Regions from separate parts of the Homo sapiens genome. Here region 2 is linked to region 1. Evidence: promoter capture Hi-C in human tissues and cell types (Jung and others, 2019). All regions are on one chromosome and are shown on one strand. The core of a region is centred on a gene start or on the middle of the fragment in contact, and the rest is flanking DNA. Distances in the headings are between cores, read along the strand shown. Region 1 overlaps MMP24-AS1-EDEM2 (MMP24-AS1-EDEM2 readthrough). Region 2 holds the start of MAP1LC3A (microtubule associated protein 1 light chain 3 alpha).

Region 1 (2,838 bases), core at 215-2,714:
CGGCCCATTCCTGCCACCTGTAAGTCCAGGGAGGCTGCCAGGAACCTAGGAGGTGGTCTAGAGTCCTACTGCCCACTCTGGCCCCAGCGTCACTGGCCTAGGGACACATGGGGGTGGGGATTGTTTGGCCTTCCTGGCTTAGGTCTCTGGAAGAGAGAAGAACCCCATGGGGCAGACCCAGGCCACGGGCAGTACATGCCTCCCACACTACTGACACCGCCAGTGTCTTCTGTGAAGCCACCTTTGAGCAACGGAAAGGAAGGGGGATGGGCAAGATCAGTGCAAGGTTGGCCAAAAGCCTGGGGCTGGCCTTCTGCTGGCATGAGAGGGCCAGGCCGCCCCCAGCTCCTTACTCAGGTCCTGGCCCCTCTGGCAGCAGGGAAGGGTGAGCTCATCGCTGAGCTCCATCCCAAACAAACTGGTAGAGCCAGCGGAAGGCAGCTCTGCTTCCTGGGGTCCAGTCCTGGCTGTGCTCCTGGGCTATTCTATGACCTGGGACAAGCTGTTCAGGGCCTCTGTCTCCTGAGCAGGCTCTTCCCCAGGGGCTGTCCACAGGGAGCTCAGCTGGGAACCAGGGAACACGGCTCTGAGCACTGTGGGAGACTCAAAACCTTTGTCCGCAGCCTTGTCTCTTGCTCTTTTAACCCCTGTTCTGGGTCTGCAGAGAACAGGAGTGACCCCTTAAAGGAAAGAGGCCTGTGGTTTGGGTCCAGGAACCAAAAGGAAGGGAAGAGCGAGGGAGCCAGTATCCTGCTGCACAGAAACCCAAGAGAGCCCTGAGGGGGAGACAGAGGGAGCAGGGCAGGGGCAGGAGGACTCCCTGAGCTTGTGAGGTGAAGGCAGAGGTATGAGGAGGAGAGGCCTGCTATGAGGACCCCATGCTCCATGGGCAGGAGGCTGCTAGGGTCTTCACTCTTCAAGAGGGTGAGCGGCAGGGAAGCAGAGTGGTCAGGAATGCAGTCTCTGGGAGCCAGACTGCCTGGTTTTGAATCCCAGCTCTGCCATGTCCTAGCAGTGTGACATTTTAAATTCTTCCTCTGGAAGATAGAAGGAACAATGGCACCTTCGTCATAGGGATGTGGGTGAAGATTCATGGGGCAGGGTGTGTAATGCGCTGATACCAGCTCCTGGTACAGAAGTATTACCCTTCATTAGCAGGGTCCTGTTGAGCTGTGTGTGAGCACCAGCACCCCTGATAGGGTGTGTTCCTGTAAGTCCCTGGGCCTCCGAGCAAGTCCCCAGCAGTCTACTCGGCTACTCAAGTGGACCTTGTCTCTGCCTCATTTCTTTCTTTTAGGATCTCCATATTTGGTCGTTCCCATCTCATTAACTCCCCCAGCCCCACGAAAGGTGATAGCATTTCCCTTTGCCTCTGTTCTTCTGCCAGTGCTGCCCCTTCCCCTGGAATAACCTGATTCCTTCAAAGTTCAGCTCCATGCCTGTCTTCCAGGAAGCCTTCCATGACTTCCCAGCTGGCAGTGAGTGCTCCTTCTGCTGTGCCCTCCCAGCAGTTTCCCTGAACTGCCTTTATGGCACTGACCGCTTCCTCCCCACGTGATTGCCACTAGTGCACATGCTCGCTGCCCCAGGACTGTGGGTTCCTTGAGGACAAGCTTTGTGTTGAAGAACCAGGTGACAGCCCCCGGAATGGAACAGCGCCAAAAGCACCGTATTTTACCAAGGGAAATACTCGGACCACCTGCAGCAGAACCACCTGTGGTGACTTAAAAATGCGGAGTCCTGGGGTCACACCTGGCTCTGCCACTTTCCAAAGGGGTGAATTTCCTATTTTTTTAAAAAGTATTTTCTTTCTTTTTTATTTTTGAGACAGGATCTCACTCTGTCACCCAGGTTGGAGTGTAGTGGTGCAATCTCGGCTCACTTGAACCTCCGCCTCCCGGGTTCAAGCCATTCTCCTGCCTCAGCCTCCCGAGTAGCTGGGATTACAGGCATGTGCCACCACACCCGGCTAATTTTTGTATTTTTAGTAGAGACGGGGTTTTGCCATGTTGGCCAGGCTGGTCTCGAACTCCTGACCTCAGGTGATCTGCCCCCCCTCGGCCTCCCAAAGTGCTGGGATTACTCCAGTGCTCCCATCGCACCTGGCCCGGGGAGCCTTTTAAACACATGGAGGAGGTGGGGAAGATATTCTGATTCAGGAGGTTTGGTTTGGGACGTAGGCAATCTTTTTTGTTGTTTTTTTTTTTTAAGTTCTCCAGGTGAATTGTATAATGGTTGGGTCAGGCTGACACAACCTGAAGCAAATGCTCGACCTCAACATCACTAAAAGTGGGACAGTCTGCATCATATGTATTTGCTAATATGGTGAATAGGAAGTACCAGCACCACCTAGGAAGTATTCTTGCCAAAAAAATTGAACTTGAATCTAGTCAGCCTGTAAATCTAATGAACAACATTCAGGAATTATGGGCAAGAGAGACGTATTAAAAGTAAACTTGATTCTAGTCACGCCAAATGATTATACTCGGGACACCTGACCCAGTTTCTTCAACAAATATATGGAGGGAAACGTGTGTGTAGGACGGGGGTGTTTTAAATAAAAAGGGCTTTAAGAGACATGTCAGCCATGTGTGTGTGGATCTTGTTTGGATCCTGATTCAAGCAAACAACTGTAAAAGACATTTCCAAGGTACTTTGGGAAAGTGAACTCGAACTGGGTATTAGATTTTAAAAAATTATTGTTAATTTTGTTGGGCTTGATAATGATTGTGTGCTTATGTTAAAAATTAGCCTTTATCTGTTAGAGGTATATACTAAAGTATTTAAAGGTGAAATGTTAGAATGCCTGAGATTTTCTTTAAAATACATCAGCCAAAA
Region 2 (2,838 bases), core at 134-2,633, 700 kb after region 1:
GCACCCAGAGGGACAACCCTAACACGACCGGCCCAGGATCCACCCAGGGGCAGAGTAGGTGGGTTGGTGCCCTCTGACTAGGGGGGCACATGCCTGCCCAGCCCACCACGGTAGAGGCAGCTCAGTTCAGGAACCAGGAGCTCTCTGGGCAGGGCCTGACCGGGGCCGCCCGACTCCCAGGCCGAGCCCCCCTACTGCTGGCTCAGAAGCCGAAGGTTTCCTGGGAGGCGTAGACCATATAGAGGAAGCCGTCCTCGTCTTTCTCCTGCTCGTAGATGTCCGCGATGGGCGTGGACACACTCACCATGCTGTGCTGGTTCACCAGCAGGAAGAAGGCCTGCGTGGGGTTCAGCTGCAGGCGGCGCCTGCAGCCGGCGGGAGAGTATGCAGCTGTGAGGGGCTTGGCTGCGGGACGGACATAGCCCTGACCCCCAGAATGATTCCCAGCCTTTCACACCCATTCTCACCCCAGCTGTCACCTCTGACCCAACACCGACTGCAGCCCCGACCTTGACCTTTCCAGCCACCCCAGAACAGGGGCCCACCGCCCGGTCCCATCACCCCTGACCCCACTCCCACCCCTTCTCGGCGGGAACCCGGCTCCCCTCCCGACCCTAGCCACCTCCTGGCGGCGGCTGCCCACGCACCGGATGATCTTGACCAACTCGCTCATGTTGACATGGTCCGGGACCAAAAACTTGGTCTTGTCCAGGACGGGCAGCTGCTTCTCACCCTTGTAGCGCTCGATGATCACCTGGGAGCAGGGCGGGCGGGCAGGGGGTCGTGTCGGGAACGCGCGAGGCGGGGGCGGGGCAGGGCTGGGGGTGCGGGACTCACCGGGATTTTGCTGGGGTGCTGGTCGCGGATCTGCTGTACCTCCTTACAGCGGTCGGCTGCGGACAGCGGCCAGACCGTGAGGCCGGGTCGGGCCGGCCCAGGTCCGCCCCGCCTGTCCCGGAGGGGCGGCCCCCGGCCACGCCCCAGCTCCAGCCCCCACCCCCGGGGCCATCAGGCCCCACAGCCCCTGGCACCTATCGCGGTGGGGAAGCGGGCAGCCCCCGCCCAGGCCGGAGCTGGTCCCAGCCCGAGGGTCCAGCCAGAGCCTGACGTCACGGGGCTGACGTCACCTGCGGCAGTCGGGGTCGGCCGGCACCCCTGCCCCAGAGCTCGCAGCTCGCCTGCCGGGCCTCACCGAAGCTCCGCCGCTGCTTGAAAGGCCGGTCTGAGGGCATCGCGCGGGCCCGGCTGGGCGCGCAGGCCGGGGCTCTGGGGCGCGGGGATGTGTCTGCGGTTTGGGGGCTCCGGGGGCTCCGCGCCTCGCGCTCAAGGGCTCCGGGGCTCGCGCTGAGCACGGCGGCTGCGGCTGCGGGAGGTAACTCGCCCGGTGACGTCAGGTCACAACATTCCTTAAAGGGGAGGCCAGTGCGCCGCTCCCATTGGGCCGACGCACAACCCGCCCGCCCGGACCCGTGACGTCACGGCGCAGAGAGCCTGGGTCCGCGGACCGGGACGCGAGGGGCGGGGCTTCTGGGCGCGTCACAGTCCCGTGACGTCATGGGCAGCGCGGGAGCTTCTCCCGCAGCCCGAACTCAAGGTAAGGCCCGGAGGGCGGTGGGGCCGCCCTAGGCCGATGGAGCGGGCGGGCCAGGCTGCAGCCCCACGGCACCACTTCCCGCCCTCACCGAGTCTGTGTCAGGACTGACGCGGTTCTGGGCGCCGTGGGAAACAGCCGGAGCCAAAGGCCCGGCGCCTTCACGGGGCTTAGGGCGAGAGAAGGGAGAAGGTGCGGGAGGCACAGTCAGACACAGGATAGAACAGGATGCTAGAAATGAACGCCCAGGTTTGAAAAAGAATAATATAATTGAAAAGTAGAGCCATCGAAATTCAGGTCTCAGAGGATGAGGTGAGAAGGCAGAAAAGGACAACAGAAGAGAAATCGTGGACCTGGAGGCTGATCGGAAGCAGCTCACCAGAGAGACAGGTGATGGGGAATAAGGAAAAGGGCACAGATGGCAACGCCAGGAGAACTCGCGGGCCCGAGCAGAGCTCCAGAGGCGAACACTGAAAGACCTGCAGAGACAGTTCCTGAAAAAGAGCTGCCAGAAATGATGCTTAAAATCCAGAGCAGAATGCGCAGACTGAAGATCAACATTTTTTTGGGGGAGGGGGGAGGGGGACGAAGTCTCGTTCTGTCGCCAGGCTGGGGTGCAGTGGTGCGATCTCAGCTCACTGCAACCTCTGCCTCCCGGGTTCAAGCGATTCTCCTGCCTCAGTCAGCCTCCTCAGTAGCTGGGATTACAGGCGCCTGCCACCACCCCCAGCTAATTATTGTATTTTTAGTAGAGATGGAGTTTCACCATGTTGGCCAGGATGGTCTCGATCTCCTGACCTCGTGATCCACTCGCCTCGGCCTCCCAAAGTGCTGGGATTACAGGTGTGAGCCACCACGCCTGGCCGCCGAAATAATTTTTAAAGAATGTAGTTTAGTAACAAGGACATGGAACCCAAAAGGAAGAAATTAGATGGAAAAATGGTGAGCAAATTGGTAAACATGTGAATCTAAACAAGCATTTAATATGCAATATGAATAATAATGATTAATTTGTGGGCCACAGAAACAAGATGCATGAGACACAAGAACATGGAAGACTGAGAGGGCAATTTGAGAGGGGGTTAAAGAGACTGAGCATTGTCTGGCTTTGTAAAGTCAGGTGTGTATTTCAGATATTTAAGAGGATCACCAAAAGAATACAAACGGAACTATAACTGCCAATGCAGAGAAAAGGGTAGTGATGGGTATTAAAACTATAATGGAAGGCAGAAAGGGAGAAAAAGGAA

What was found. Contacts are between HindIII fragments. The study calls those that stand out against the background at their distance.
Region 2: a contact is called between the fragment with the promoter of MAP1LC3A here and a fragment that was not itself captured in region 1, in 1 of the 25 tissues and cell types used here (dorsolateral prefrontal cortex).

The regions. Positions count from the first base shown.
Region 1 is chr20:35,258,167-35,261,004 of GRCh38, reverse strand. The region is part of intron 2 of MMP24-AS1-EDEM2 (MMP24-AS1-EDEM2 readthrough); the gene reads left to right. All of the region lies in intron 4 of MMP24 (matrix metallopeptidase 24), which reads right to left. Among named protein-coding and RNA genes, the nearest start is that of MMP24-AS1-EDEM2, 19 kb to the left of the region's middle. The HindIII fragment of the contact is 5,720 bases long and covers 1-2,838 here.
Region 2 is chr20:34,557,263-34,560,100 of GRCh38, reverse strand. It overlaps MAP1LC3A (microtubule associated protein 1 light chain 3 alpha), which reads right to left and starts at 1,383. Exons shown (of 4, transcript NM_032514.4): 1 at 1,193-1,383; 2 at 838-893; 3 at 648-754; 4 at 1-365. The coding sequence starts at 1,232. The coding sequence ends at 203. RefSeq lists silencers at 1,202-1,251, 1,592-1,681. The HindIII fragment of the contact is 19,125 bases long and covers 1-2,838 here.